Linked DNA regions of Homo sapiens: region 2 is linked to region 1. The links are contacts of gene promoters, found by promoter capture Hi-C in human tissues and cell types (Jung and others, 2019). All regions are on one chromosome and are shown on one strand. Each heading gives the region's core, a stretch centred on a gene start or on the middle of the fragment in contact. The rest is flanking DNA. Distances are from core to core; before and after follow the strand shown. Region 1 holds the start of HPDL (4-hydroxyphenylpyruvate dioxygenase like). Region 2 overlaps GPBP1L1 (GC-rich promoter binding protein 1 like 1).

The links. The method cuts DNA at HindIII sites, captures the fragments that hold promoters and counts their contacts. A contact is called where the count stands out against the background at its distance.
Region 2: a fragment that was not itself captured here is called in contact with the fragment with the promoter of HPDL in region 1 in 3 of the 25 tissues and cell types used here (liver, neural progenitor cells and thymus).

What each region holds. Positions count from the first base shown.
Region 1 is chr1:45,322,411-45,330,163 of GRCh38, reverse strand. It overlaps HPDL (4-hydroxyphenylpyruvate dioxygenase like), which reads right to left and starts at 3,269. Exons shown (of 1, transcript NM_032756.4): 1 at 1,454-3,269. The coding sequence starts at 3,015. The coding sequence ends at 1,900. MUTYH (mutY DNA glycosylase) reads left to right here. Exons shown (of 16, transcript NM_001048174.2): 16 at 727-922. The coding sequence ends at 858. RefSeq lists enhancers at 1-709, 2,058-2,167, 2,928-3,177, 3,188-3,237 and a silencer at 5,973-6,267. The HindIII fragment of the contact is 17,678 bases long and covers 1-7,753 here.
Region 2 is chr1:45,643,356-45,651,108 of GRCh38, reverse strand. The region is part of intron 6 of GPBP1L1 (GC-rich promoter binding protein 1 like 1); the gene reads left to right. It also overlaps the pseudogene RPS15AP10 and the pseudogene RPL7AP16. Among named protein-coding and RNA genes, the nearest start is that of CCDC17, 23 kb to the right of the region's middle. The HindIII fragment of the contact is 8,049 bases long and covers 1-7,387 here.

The sequences.
Region 1 (7,753 bases), core at 2,020-4,519:
ACAACTGGATTAAAGCGATTCTCCTGCCTCAGTCTCCCAAGTAGCTGGGATTACAGGTGCCTGCTACCACACCCAACTAATTTTTGTATTTTTAGTAGAGACAGGGTTTCACCATGTTGACTAGGCTGGTCTCGAACTCCTGACCTCAAGTGATCTGCCCATCTTGGCCTCCCAAAGTGCTGGGATTACAGGCGTGAGCCACCACACCCATCCATGGGAGCTATCAGTTCTAATTGGGAGACGGATCAGGAAAGGCTGTTTGGAGGAAGCAGCTGGTAATCTTCGTCCTAGAAATGAATCCTTTTCTTCAGGTTTGGGAGGGGAATCAACCGTAGCGATGTTCTTTCCAGTCCCAAGAGTAGTGTGAGCAAAGGTGGAGCCCAGTGCAGGCTGCAGTGCTCAAGGAGCTGTGAGCAGTTGGTTTAGCTGGAAAGGTCAGCAGGGCCTGCTGGGTCAGTCAGGGTGTGAGCCCTAGGCTGCTGACTCATTTTAGGTGGAGGAGAGAGGAGTCAGATTTGCATTTTTAGGACAATTCGATTCCCTCAGGCAGCCTTTTGGAGGGTTGATTGATGGGGCAGATACTTGAGGCAGGATGAAAGCTCTACAGCATTCCAGGCTAAGCCTAGCTAGATCAGTAGAGTCGGGGAAAGGGAGAGAGGACAAGGAGAGGATTCTCTGCTCCCCCTCCCCCAACTACAAGGCCTCCCTCCTTCCATTTTTTCACAGGGTTCCAAAAGGTCCCAGGTGTCCTCTCCGTGCAGTCGGAAAAAGCCCCGCATGGGCCAGCAAGTCCTGGATAATTTCTTTCGGTCTCACATCTCCACTGATGCACACAGCCTCAACAGTGCAGCCCAGTGACACCTCTGAAAGCCCCCATTCCCTGAGAATCCTGTTGTTAGTAAAGTGCTTATTTTTGTAGTTATTTTATGTTGTATTTTTTTGAGATGGGGGTCTCGCTATGTTGCTCAGACTGGTTTCGAACTCAGGTGATTCTGGCCTCAAGTGATTCTCCCACTTCAGCCTCCTAAAGTGCTTGGATTACAGGCATGAGCCACCACGCCCGCCCTTTTGTAGCTATTTTGGACAGCCTTCCACCCTCTCCCTAGCCCCCTCACCCCTTATATCTGAGGGAGGGACCCAGAAAAGTGGTGACGTTCTGCTTGGTTCTGACTTTCTCTGGCTGAACTCCCAGCCAGCCCCGGGCAGATGGGGTTGGAGTGGGGGTGTTCTGTCCAGACTGATCTGCCCTCCAACCCCCAGGAGAAAGGCAAGGCAGCTACAGGGAGAACCTGCCAGTGGCTGACACACAACACCCTCTGTTTACGTCTCAGGTCAGCTCTAATTGGAGTGGTGGCATCACTCTGGAGTAGGTAGTTGGGCTCAACTCTCACCCAGCCCCTCCCCACCTGAGTGGTCGCTCCCTAGGGGGAGAGGAAGCACAGGAGAAGATTTGTTCTGTTTTAAATTCCTACCTCAAATACGAAATAATTTATTTAGGGTTATGTTACATACGGAGTGAAACAATACAGAAAAGCAAAGGGCTAATAATGACAGGATTTGAGGAGTGGGTGGGAGGAAATAGAATCACAGCGGGACACAGGGAGGACTCGAAAGTATTGGTTATGTTCTATTTCCTAGTGTGTAATTCTTTTATTGTTCTTTGTATCTTACATATTTATTATAGACTGTATATAAGAAATGTTTTAGTTTTAAAAAATCCCACCTCTTTGGAGCCCAATGAGAGACACAGCTTCTGGCAGGCACTGATGAAATGGAAGTCACACCTGCCCCCCGGAGGCAAAGCCTTTCACTAGTTGGGCCTCCTGCAGATGTTCCTCAGTTCTGTGCTGGTCTCCCCAGAGCTGCAGGACAGCTGGCTGCACCCAGCCCTGGGCATCCTTAGGCTTCCTGGCTCCTGGCAGATTGCTCCTGTACGGACTGCCACAGAGCTCTGATGTTGCCCTGACCAAAGCCAGTGGCCCCCTGCCTCTGAATCAGCTCCAGGAAGAAAGTGTCCTCAGTAAAAAGGGACTTGGTGAAGACCTGAAGCAGAAACTTGCCTTTATCACCATCTAGCAGGATCCCCTGTCGAGCAAGCAGATGAGGCTCGTGCCCTGCAGCTCGGATCTGCCTCTCCTTTCCTGGCTGCTGGTAGTATGCCCCAGGGGGAGCCAGGAACTGGCCTCCAGCAGTTGCCACCCCCTCAGTGGCCTCCACAATGTTAGGCGTATACAGCCCCACGTGCTGCAGGCCTGGCCCCTTGTGCCGGGCCAGGAACTGCTCCACCTGGTCCTGTCGTGTCGTCGCCCCCGGAAGGGACTCAGCCAGAACAAGAGTGGGGACAATGCTGCCCGGCTGGGCCTGCAGGGCTGTAAGCCTCAGTCCCCCAAGCCCAAACCCTGCTGTCATTTCGAGGCCCAGCTCGGGATCCTCACCTGGGCTCAGCGGCAAGTGGCAAAAGCCCAGGCAGTCGTGGAACCAGCGCAAAAGTGTGGGGGAGCTGCCGGGGGTGCAGGCCAAGGTCAGGTGGTCCACGCGGCTGACCCACCCGGGGCCAGGCGCAGAGGACACGGGCCTGAAGCCGGGTAGGAAGGGTCCGCGGTAGCCAGCGCGCTCCAGCAAGGTCAGGCTGAGGATGCCGGCAGGCGAGCTGACCACGGCGTAAGTGGCGGCACCCTGCGCGTCCCGCACGCGAACGGGAGGGACAGGCACGCTGCAGCCCAGCGCTGCCAGCTCCCGGGTTGCAGCGCCGGCGTCCGCCACGTCGAAGCACAGGTTTGTGGCGCTGGGCACGGCGTGACGCGGATCCAGGCCGTACAGCGGCTCTCCAGACCCTGCGCCCTCGTTCACCAAAAAGACCGCGTCGCCGCTGCGCAGGGCTAGCTGCCGCCAGCCGTCCACCTCCCGCGAAGCCAGGGGCTGGAAGCCGAAGAGGCGCTGCAGGTTCCGGGCTAGGGGCTGCCCGGCGGGCACGTGGAAGGCGATGTGGCACAAACGAAGGGCGGGCGCGGCCATGGCGCTCTGGACGGCGACCTAGACTTGTCCTTCTGGGGCCGCTTACTTGTGGTTGGGGACTTCGGGGCTCTCAGTCCTGGGCTGATCGTCCGGAGTTGGGGAGTCCGGCTCACCCCGCAGAGCGCGTTCCTCGCTTTCTTCCGGAAAGAAGTCACCCGCCGACCCCTGAGAGCTCGCGGTTCTCCCTGCAGCGCCACCCCAGCCAGGAGCAGCGTCTGGACCACCGGGTCTCAGTGAGCCGAGCTGCTGGTTGTGAGAACCACGCGGTGCCTGTGCTCGCGCCAAGCAGGAGAAAGAGGGCGGAGCCCGTGACTCCGCCTTTGACTCCCCACCCCCTCCCCCACACCCTGTCGCCTCGGATACTGCGGGGTCGCCGCGCTGCTCTTTCCCCGGGCCTCACGCCTGGTCACATCCTTGGGCACTGAGCCTCCCTTCCCCAGCCCAGGAACTCACAATGGCTGCCTTCACTCGGCGCCAGGCACTGGGCTCCCACTCATCCCCCCAACCTCACAGCGAAGGGACTCAGCCCGGGTTCAGGGAAAGAGTTGGAATTCTCTCTCCACAAGCACGGAATTTTTTAGCACTTTCATGTTTTTTCTTTAAGTTCTGGAGTTTGCCTCTAAGTCTTAATGTTCCCTGGAATACACACACACACACACACACACACACACACACGTTTATATGTTTTGAGACAGGGTCTCACTCTGTCACCCAGGCTGGAGTGGCACAATCACAGCTCACTGCAGCCTCCACCTCCTGGGTTCAGGCGATTTTCCTTGCCTCAGTGCACAAATAGCTGGGACCACAGGCGGACGCCACCACACCCAGCTAATTAAAAATAATTTTTTTTTTTAGAAATGGGGTCTTGCTATATTGCCCAAGCTGGTTTTAAACCCCTGGGCTCAAGCCATCTTTCCACCTCAGCCTCCCAAAGTGTTGGGCAATCTCTCAACCAGTCCTGTCTCTTTCTTCAATCACCCTTCTGTCAACATCATTTAACCCCTTGTCCCAAGCAAGATTTGGAGGAAAAATCTGACGGTTCGGGATCTGAAAGGAACAGCTGCCTGGCTGTCATTCCCCTTCCCCATCCTTTGAGGACTGGAACACAGGCCCTCCTTGCTCTTTGCAGCTTCCTGACTTGGCATTGAGCCAGAGATTTCTGTGGTGGGGGCACTTCTGGCTCTGAAACCCAGAATTGTGTGAGATGACTGGATTGAGGAATTTGTAGTCTTCTGGAACTTCAACTGAGTGGCCCTTGAAGGGTTAGGGAAGGGCATCCAAGAAGGGCAAAGGGCATAAGCAAAAACTCAGTAAGAGTGTGAGCCAGACTCTTAGAGGAGCAATGGGCCATGCTGTTAGGGAGGCATTTAGGATGAATGCCACAGTCCAAGGCATCACAAGAAATTTTTTTGTCAGGCAGCCTGATCTACTGGGTTTCATTGGCAAGAGGGAGAAGGATGTCATAGGGGACAGGGGCTAGCTGGATGTCATGGTGTTCAGGCCTGCAGGCAGGAGGGCAGTACCCAGGAGCTGGTCAGGGTGGTAAAAGGTACTTGGTGCTACTCTGCAGACCAGTGAATGTGAGGACATGAGTTCCAAAAGCCAGACGGACCTGGGTTTGAATCACCAGCAACACTTACTGTCTGTATGGGCAAGTTGCTTAACGCCTCTGAGCCTTAATTTGCCCATCTGTAAAAATGGAAATAATAGTACCTACTTCAAAGAGTTGTGATTAAGTGAGGTGGAGTAAGTGTTCAGTAAATAGTAGCTGTTGCTATTGTAGTTACTGTTTTTTTTTTTAATTAATTTTATTTTCCCACATATTCTAATATTTATTTATTTTAAAAAGTTTTTCAGAGCTGGGCACAGTGGCTCACACCTGTAATCTCAGCACTTTGGGAGGCTGAGGCAGGCGGATCACCTGAGGTCAGGAGTTCAAGACCACCCTGGCCAACATGGTGAAACCCCATCTCTACTAAAAATACAAAAAATTAGATGTAATCCCAGCTACTCGGGAGGCTGAGGCAGGAGAATCACTTGAACCCAGGAGGCGGAGGTTGCAGTGAGCCAAGATCATGCCATTGCACTGTAGCCTGGGCAACAAGAGAGAAACTCTGTCTCAAAAAAAAAAAAAAAGAAAAGAAAAAAGTTTTTTTAGAGATGAGGTCTTACTCTGTCACCTAGGCTGGAGTGTAGTGGCATGATCACAGCTCACTGCAGGCTCCAACTCCTGGGCTTAAGCAATCCTTCCACCTCAGTCTCCCAAGTAGCTTGGGACTACAGGTGCACACCACCATGCCTGGCTATTTAGTTATTGTTTTATTTTATCTCATGATACAATGCCAGTGGTACCTCCCAGAAGGTGTTGTGTGGCCTACTAGAGAGATGGGGACAGGGGCTTCACTGGCATGGGCCAAAGGCTAGGCAGCCTACTCAATGAGCAGCTCACCCCAAGGAATCCTGGGTAGTAAGAAAGGAAAGTAAATCTTGGGGGCCCCAAATCACTAAGCTAAAAGGAAAAGTCAAGCTGGGAACTGCTTAGGGCCAATCTGCCTCCCATTCCGTTCAAAGTCACAGTAAGAGTTAAAGAAAGAGGAAAGAAACACAAAAAGCAGCTCAAAAATCAAACCTGAGAGGGGCTTCTGGCTGATTTCAGTCAGGAGTGCTCTCTCTTACAGACTATTTATTTATTTATTTATTTATTTATTTAGAGATGGATTCTCACTCTGTCACCAGGCTGGAGTGCAGTGGCGAGATCTCAGCTCACTGCAACCTCCGCCTCCCGGGTTCAATCGATTCTCCTGCTAGCCTCCCAAGTAGCTGGGACTTACAGGCACGCACCACCATACCCAGCTAATTTTTGTATTTTTTTTAGTAGAGACGGGTTTCACCATATTGGCCAGGATGGTCTCAATCTTTTGACCTCATGATCCGCCTGCCTCCACCTCCCAAAGTGCTGGGATTACAGGCGTGAGCCACCGCGTCTGGCCCAGACTAACAGTATTTATTGGAGAGAGCTTGGAATGTTTCTGTGTCAGGGAGAAGTTTATGGTGGAGTTGGAATGTCTCTGGTTGGAGGGGAGGTTATCTTGAGGCTGACACCTCTCCAGCCGAAGGGGAGGTTATCTTGGGGCTGGCATGTCTCTGGCTGGGGAGGGGCTTGGAACGTTTCTGGTCAGAGATGTCATTTGTGGTTTATGGTCATGCTGACCTTAGCCATTAGGCTGATGCCCTTTGGATTTAGGCAGTTTTTGATCAAGGCAAAACTTAAAATGGCAGTGCTTGTCCAAGATGGCAGTGCTCCTGCTCCGTCAGTCCAGACTCTATAGTGATAAAAAGGACGGGGGCAGCCAGGTGCAGTGGCTCACACCTGTAATCCCAGCACTTTGGGAGGCCAAGGCGAGTGGATAGCTTGAGGTCAAGTATTCAAGACCAGCCTGACCAACACGGTGAAACCCCATCTCTGCTAAAAAAAATACAAAATTAGGCCAGGCGCGGTGGCTCACGCCTGTAATCCCAGCACTTTGGGAGGCCGAGGCGGGTGGATCACGAGGTCAGGAGATCGAGACCATCCTGGCTAACACGGTGAAACCCCGTCTCTACTAAAAATACAAAAAATTAGCTGGGCGTGGTGGCGGGCACCTGTAGTCCCAGCTACTCGGGAGGCTGAGGCAGGAGAATGGCGTGAACCCAGGAGGCGGAGCTTGCAGTGAGCCGAGACTGAGCCACTGCACACCAGCCTGGGCGACAGGGCGAGACTCCGTCTCAGAAAAAGAAAAATTAGCCAGGCATGGTGGTGCACGCCTGTAATGCCAGCAAGCTGAGAGGCTGAGGCAGGAGAATTGCTTGAACCCAGGAGGCGGAGGTTGCAGTGAGCCGAGATCGCACCATTGCACTCTAGCCTGGGCAACAAGAGCGAAGCTCCATCTCAAAAAAAGAAAAAAAAAAAAAAGGGCCGGGTACGGTGGTTCATGCCTGTAATCCCAGCACTTTGGGAGGTTGAGGTGGGTGGATCATCTGAGGTCAGGAGTTTGAGACCAGCCTGGCCAGCACAGTGGAAACCCCGTCTCTACTAAAATACAGAAATTAGCCAGGTGTGGTGGGCGCATGCCTGTAATCCCAGCTACTTGGAAGGCTGAGACATGAGAATCACTTGAACCCAGTAGGCGCAGGTTGTAGTGAGCAGAGATCATGCTACTGCACTCTAGCCTGGGTGACAGAGTTAGACTCTGTCCCCCCCAAAAAAAAAAAAAAAAAAAAGAGGGGCGGCATGTTCTTTCTGGCTACTTCCTTTTGACGGGGATGGAGAGTTTTCTGGTTTCGGATTGACTATAGGAGTAATGCCATCTGTAGATGTTTTGGGGTAGTTGTCTGTGAAATGGCCATGATCCTGTCAGTTAAAAATCCTTGAAAAAAGTTTATTAGGCAGGGTAAGAACATTAGTCCTGGGCATATTATTAGGAGATGGCCCAGGAATGGGGATGACTCATGCTACGATTTTGTTCCCAAACCAAGAATCCATTTGGTTGTTTTGGTATTCCCTTAGCTTTTTAGTTCTTTCTTGCCGAGACCAGCTCGGTCGGGGAGACCCTAACCCAGCGGCGCTAGAGGAATTAAAGACACACACACAGAAATATAGAGGTGTGAAGTGGGAAATCAGGGGTCTCACAGTCTTCAGAGCTGAGAGCCCCGAACAGAGATTTACCCACATATTTATTAACAGCAAACCAGTCATTAG
Region 2 (7,753 bases), core at 2,114-4,613, 320 kb before region 1:
TGTCCTGGGTCCCAAGTCTGTGACTCGCATTGCCAAGCTCAAAAAGGCAAAGGCTAAAGAACTTGCCACCAATTGGATTAAATGTACACTGTTGAGCTTTCTTTACATAAAAAGGTAATGCAAATTTTCCTAAAGATTTCTATCCAAAGTGACTTGATGAATAATATGTAATTAACTTGAAGAGAGAAAGCAGAAGGAGCAGAATTGGTTGGAGAAAACAAATTCTTGATGCCAAAGAGATGGGTTAGGTCTAGAGAAGTGCACTTGAAAATAGAGATAATAGTTGAGGTTTGTGGATAAATAAAATCGCTCAAGGAGAGTAATACATTGGAAAGAAGGGAGGTGTAGAGCAGAACCTGTGGATTAGCAGTAAGGGAGACTGAGAAGTGGTTAGCTGAAGAAGGAACAAGTATACCAAGAAAAAGTAGGTAGATAAAAATCACAAATTGAAGATGTTTTGGGACCTGATTGTTTGCAGTAGATTTTCTGTATTATTTTTTTCTATACCATATGTATGTATAATTAGAAAATTATTTTAAAATCGTATTGGTTTCGTGTAATTAACAGTCCTATATTGTTACCTGGGCAAGTTAAATAGTCCTAATTGTCCCTGAGTTGTTAGAGAATGTTTGTGAACCACTCAGCACAGACCTTGACAGATAGGTTTTTGTTTTTTGCTTTTTTGAAGTACATGATATAGACAGGAACACAGATTTTTAAATGGTAGCTGTTACTAAGTGTGGGAGAGAGCTTTGACTCTGGCAGTTTGGGATGGCCTTTCAAAATTGACAAGTGTGGTTGTAAGGGTTAGAGAGTAAGTTGGTGATGAATGATACACTACTCTTTGGAGAATAAAGAGCCAGGTGTGAGGGTAGAGTGTTCTAGGATTAGGAGACTTGGATGTGTTTGAAACCTGAGGAGTAAGAAATTGGTGGAGAGAAGGGACTCTGAGAGGATGCCAGCAGTATTGGCTACAGCTTTTTCATCTTCCCCAATTATCCAGTAAAAGCAGAGCTCCCTTTAATATTGGGAGCAATATTAATATGTTTACTCTTATCACTTGTATTTATCATTGTATTAGAGGTCCTAACAAGTACAATAAGGCAAGAAAAAGAAATGTATACAGTTTAACAAGAGGAAATAAAACTTTGTGTTTGCAGGTGAAATGAAAATCCTAAGGACTCTGTAGAAAAACTATATATGAAATTCCAGAACAGCCAAATAATCTATGATGGGAAAGAAAATCAGAATGGTTTTATGGTTGCCTGTGCACAGTGGGGATTAACTGGGAAAGGGTATGAAGGGAACTTTCTGGTTGATGGAAGTGTTAATAATCTTCAAAGAAGTTAGGGAGGTATTAGCATTTTAAAAACTCATAGAATTGAGTATATTTTATATGTGTACATTTTACTGTATGAAAATTTTAGTATTAAAAAATATTAAAATTACCAGTAGTGAAACAGATTTAAACCTCCTGATATGATGGCACTGAGAAATATGCACCATCACCTCTGTAACATTCCTTCCAGAAATGCATTGCCTGGATCTAATCATAGGAGACCTCAGACAAGCCCAAATTGAGGATTCTACAAAAGAATTGCAAAATAACTGGCCTGTAGTCTTCAAAAATGTTAAGGCCATGAAAAAAAAAAAAGCTCCAGATTAAAGAACTAGAGATATGACAACTAAAAACAACATGTAAACCTAGATTAAATAACTACTGGGTGAGGCAAAACCATTTTGCAAAAATTTTCTTTTGCTAAAACATCAGTGGGACAATTTGAATAAGTGTTGTAGATTAGATAATAGTATGTATAAGTGTTAATAATTACTCTGATTATGTAAAAGATATCCTTTTAAGGAAATACATATTTAAGGGTAAGTGGCATCAAGTCCTGCAACTTGCACATGGTTCAGGAGAAAGAATGGGGAAGCAAATGTGAAATATTAATACAGGTTGAGCATCTGCAGTCTAAAACTTTTTGAGTGTGGATGTCATGCCACAAGTAGAAAATTCCATACCTGATCTCATGCAGCAGGTCGCAGTGAAAACTTTTGTTTCCTGCACAAAATTATTTGAGACAGAGATTCACTCTTGTGTCTCAGGCTGGAGTGCAATGGCGCGATCTTGGCTCACTGCAACCTGCGCCTCGTGGGTTCAAGCCATTCTCCTGCCTCAGCCTCCCAAGTAGCTGGGATTACAGGCATGCGCACCCCTACGCCCAGCTAATTTTTGTATTTTTAGTAGAGGCGGGATTTCGCCATGTTGGTCAGGCTGGTCTCAAACTCCTGACCTCAAGTGATCCGCCTGCCTCAGCCTCCCAAAGTGCTGGGATTACAGGCGTGAGCCACTGTGCTCAGCCCTGAAATTATTTTAAAGTAAAGTTAAAAATAAGACAAAGCAAGTAGAGTTGAGGAACCAACAAAATCTACAGATGCCATCTACGTCAAAGCAAAATGATATTTCCCCACATACCCGTAAAGGGATAGGGACAAACCACCAAAATCTATATAAGAGGCTTGGTTAATACTAGCATTTGTGCAGGGGGAACTGAAGGGAAGCAGCAGAGCACCTGACAGCATAAAGAATGCTAACAGAGCCAACCGTTTTTCTGGAAAGCTCGTAGGGCATATTTGAGAAGAGCAGCAGTTAATCGGGAGTAGTTTTCCGTAATGGAATAACAAGTAAATACAGGGGCTCTGGGATAAGGTATGAAGGATCTGACTGGACCAGTCAAGAGTTCAAACCACACAGTAGTTTGAATAGAGAAAGTTAATATAAGGAATTTAACTATAGCAAGATTGGAGTAATGAAGGATTGACTAGTACAAAGTAAAAAGATCTTTAAAGAAAATAGAAATAGCACGTAGTCACAGTTCAGTGGCTCACGCCTGTGATTGCAGCACTTTGGGAGGTCGAGGCAGGGCGATTGCTTGAGTCCAGGAGTTTGAGACCAGCCTGGGCAACGTGGTGAAACTTTTGTCTCTACAAAAAATTTAAAAATTAGCTGGACGTGGTGGGTACCTGGTAGTCCCAGCTACTCAGGGGGCTGAGGTGGGAGGATTGCTTGAGTCTGGCAGGTCGTAGCTGCAGTGAGCCCAGATGGCACCACTTCATTCCACCCTGGGTAACAGAGTGAGACCCTGTCTCAAAAAAAAAGAAAAAAACATACACACAGACATATATGCATACATACAAGGAGCAGCCACTACCCTTAGGGCTAAGACAGTGTGTCCAAGAATGAGTCCCCCATTTCCCTACCACCACCCCAGGGCTGAGATTCATACCTGGTTAGAAAGGGCTCAGTTGTGGCTCACTGAATGGCAGAGTAATTGCTGATGTGCTTCTCTGGGGAAGCGTGCTGAAAGGCTTTTCATGAGAGGTGTCACTCTGCTACAAAACTACTCAGATGAGGTGCTGAGGGAAGCTGCTGGTCTCTGAGCTCACTTATATGTCAGAACCTGGCTTTGAGGAACTGGGTGCTGTGGGAGCCTGCTGAAAAACACACAGGAACAGGAAGTAAAAATCTCTCCATTGTTCTCCGCTGGCAGAAGTTAACATGCCAGCTGTCAAAGGAAAAGTTTTAAAGTGTCCAGGCACATTTTTGCTCAACAGGCAGAAGGGATGACTTTGTGACTAAGAAGCGGTAACCAGCACAGGGTTCTATCGTTGTTCATGCTAGCTGGCCACTATACCCTTCCAGAACAAAGCCCGTCACTGAGGACAAACTGTTGGAAATATAATCCAGATTGAGCTGCAGAGAGACAAGTTAGTAGAGACGAAAGGAAAGGTTCAGATAAAAGCGGTAGGGAGAAGATAACCAGGACATTAAAGAACGTAAACCCGGGAGGCAGAGGTTGCAGTGAGCCAAGATCGCACCATTGCACTCCGGCCTGGGCAACAAGAGTATGAAACTTGGTCTCAGAAAAAAAAAAAAAAAAATCCTAAGAAGTTGGTTTAAAAAAAAAAATCATCTGGGAAAACTCAAAATAAGGGGCTAGAACTCTTGAAAAGAAGTAATAATAAAAAATTTCAGAAAAATACTGAAGAATAAAGAGAATAAATAATATTTTTCAAGAATTAGACAGCGAAGGAAAATTTTTTAAATGAAGGAGAAATACATAGGTAAAAAATTAAAACTGGGAAAAAAAAGTTTGGCAGAAAAGATCTAATATAGATATATAATAGGATCTTCCCACCCCGCCCCCAGAAAGAAAACCAAAATAAAGGAATAGCTTAAATACTGACAAGTGGCCGGGTACGGTGGCTCACACCTGTAATCCCAGCAGTTTGGGAGGCCGAGGGGGGCAGATCACGAGGTCAGGAGATCGAGACCATCCTGACTAACATGTTGAAACCCTGTCTCTACTAAAAATACAAAAAATTAGCCAGGCATGGTGGCGGGCGCCTGTAGTCCTAGCTACTCGGGAGGCTGTGAGGCAGGAGAATGGCGTGAACCCGGGAGGTGGAGCTTGCAGTGAGCTGAGATCGCGCCACTGCACTCCAGCCTGGGGACAGAGTGAGACTCCGTCTCAAAAAAAAAAAAAATACTGAAAAGTATAATTCAGGAACATTTTTCTGAAATACATTTAGATTTGAATCTACAAATTGAAAGGATAGCCAGGATGACTAAGACATACTCTTACAAAATACTAGACTTGAACAAAAAAAGAAAGATATCCTTTGGCCATTCAGGCATAAAGACTGAGTTGTTAAGAGAAAGAAAACCAGATAGACTGTGACAGCAAAGCTTTATAACAAGTAAATGGAGTAACAATTACAATAAAGAAAATGTGAGCCAAAGATTTTGTGCTTTGTCAAGCTAATGTTCAGTTATAAAGATCACAGACAAACATCAATGTGTAAGTACTTGGAATATTGCTCTTTCCGGCATTGTTTCGCGCTGCCACAATGGTGTGTGTGAACATCCTACCTGTTGCTCTCAAGAGTATCACCAATGCCGAAAAGAGAGGGAAACGCCGGTTCTTACTAGGCCATGCTCCAAAGTCATTGTCCAACTTCTAGCTGTGATGATGAAGCATCGTTACATTGGCAAATTTGAAATCATTGATGATAACAGAGCTGGGAAAATTGTGAACCTCACAGGCAGGCTAAACAAGTGTAGAGCCCCAGCTTTGATTTGCAACTCAAAGATCTAGAAAAACGGCAGAACAATCTGCTTCTATCCCAACCATTTGACTTCGTCATATTGACAGCCTTAGCTGGTATCATGGACCATGAAGAAGCAAGACGAAAACACACAGGAGGGAAAATCCTTGGATTTTGTTTCTAGGGATGCAATACATATTTACAAATAAAATGCCTCAAAAAAAAAAAAAACAAAAAACTTCGGAATATCGTTCCCAAGACTTTTCCTGAGAACTACTGAAGAACAAGCTTCTGACAAACTAACCAGAAAGATTACAAAAGGAATGGTGGTAAATACTAAATGTATGGTTAATTGTAGAGCTAAGAAGAAATGAGGGTTAAAAGAGAGTTAGCATGTGATAGTTATATGATCTCACAATCTGGACATAGTATAACTTTTTTAAAGTGGGAAGATGGGGAGAACATGTCCAAAAAAAACAAAACATTTTGGTCACTGGTGAAATACTGACATTGCTATTCTGAAACTTGTGCATAATATGGAATAAAGCAATTAAATATGATATTCTATACTTTGTATGCTTGAGAATCAGGATTCTTGTAGGAGGAAATAAAAACGTAAAATAGATGTTCCGTAAAATCCACAAGGGTACTCAGTTTGAATTGGGAATATCAGTAATAAGTTATGAGGTGTTTTAGCTTTGGAGTGAAAAATACATACTTCTAGGCGGTTCTGTCCACTGAAAAGACATAAAAACAGTGAACAACCCCATAGCAATGAGTGGCTCTACTGCCTGGATTGTGATCTTGAAATAGTTTATCCAGACAGCATACTTAAAAGAAGAGCTTGGAATATTTTTTCAAACTAGATAACAAAGAAGTAAAGAACTACTTAGGGTTGTAGCAAAAGGATTTAGAAGCCAAATTGAAGAGGGTTCCATAGGCCAAACATGGGACAGTTTTATGCATCAATTAATAATAATAACGACGAGGGTTGAATCACATCAAATTGGATTTAAATCTGTGAATTCACAATGATACCTACCTCACCTTAGGAACAAGCATGTATCATATTTTTTCTATATGAACTGTACTGTTGAATTGCCAAATAGGGGAAGTTCCTATTTATGGAAGTATACTACTTTATAAAGAATTGTAAAATTAGATCATTGTTTTTGCATCTTGTATTGAGCTGACAGTTTTAGGCTATGAGCACCAGTGTCTGCCAGCATCACTAAAAGAAGCACAACCACATGTTATTTGTGTGTGTCTCCTAATGGAAGAATACAAAACCACTAAGGATTCTGTAACCTCTAGAACCAACTACCAATTTATAGAAAGAGGCTTAAGATTTTCTAAAAACTAGTAGATTAAAAGCTGAGATTGTTTTTGGAGACAAAACTATAGTGTCAAGGGAGACACAATGGGTTAGTAAAAAAAAAAAATGCAGTGATCACCATAAGTATGAGTAGTTTTGGGGTTTTTTTCTAATGAGATTTGTAATGTCTTTCTGGTTTGTCTGGTAATGTTATGTTGCTTAAACCATGTAGTGTTTAAAAGAACTTTTACCCATTAACTTATTCATTTGTTTTATATTTTTCCTGTTTATATTTTACAAGTTTTAAAACTGTATTTTTTAAAACAGTAGAAAGAGATCAAAGATACTGTATAAATAGGAGCATTGTCTCTGAGAACCCTGGGTACAACATGCCTATTAAAATGAAACAAGGAAACAACCACAGCTTTTATGGCTGGGCACTCCTTCTGCCTCTACCACTCCATCTAGAGGAATGTATTTACCTGTCCTTGAAAATCTGTCACTGATTTGTCCACTTATATAGAGAGTTGGTAGTTTCATTTGCATTTGTGCTTGTTCTCCTATTGTAGTGGTTCTCACCTTGATTGCTTGGAAAATACATACCTGCTAGAGGCCCTGCCCCTGGAGATTCTGATTCTGAAGCTCTGTAGTGGAGCCTGGGTGTCTTTTTGTTGTTTGTATAATGTTCACAGGCAATTGTGCTGAAAAGCCATTTTCCTGCTGGGCACAGTGGCTCATGCCTGTAATCTCAGCACTTTGGGAGGCCAAGGTGAGTGGATCACTTGAGGTCAGTTCGAGACCAGCCTGGCCAGCATGGTGAAACCCTGTCTGTACTAAAAATACAAAAATTAGCTGGGTGTGGTGGTGCGCACCTGTAATCCCAGTTACTCAGGAAGCTGAGACAGGAGAATTGCTTGAACCTGGAAAGTGGAGGTTGCAATGAGCCAGGATTGTGCCACTGTACTCCAACCTGGGCAACAGAGTGACACTCTGTCACAAAAAAAAAAAAAAAAAAAAAAAAAAAAAGCCATTCTCCTACCCTGTTACCAGATCGTAAAGTTTGGGCTAGGACAGCAGTGTCATACGATTAGTTATTAAGTCTAGTCTATTGCTCTTAACTCTTCCCTGCCCTTTCCCTTATCTCGTTCTCTACTTCTGTTACCTTTATTACCCTCCCGGACTATGGAATTGATCTCCTAATGGTCTCTTAGTTGATGTTTAAATACCTCAGATCCATCCTTTAAGCTGCTACTAGAGTGACGGTTGTAAGTTGATAATTAGATAATGTTAACTGCATGAAAGATGGATCCTCATTACCTGTAGAATAAA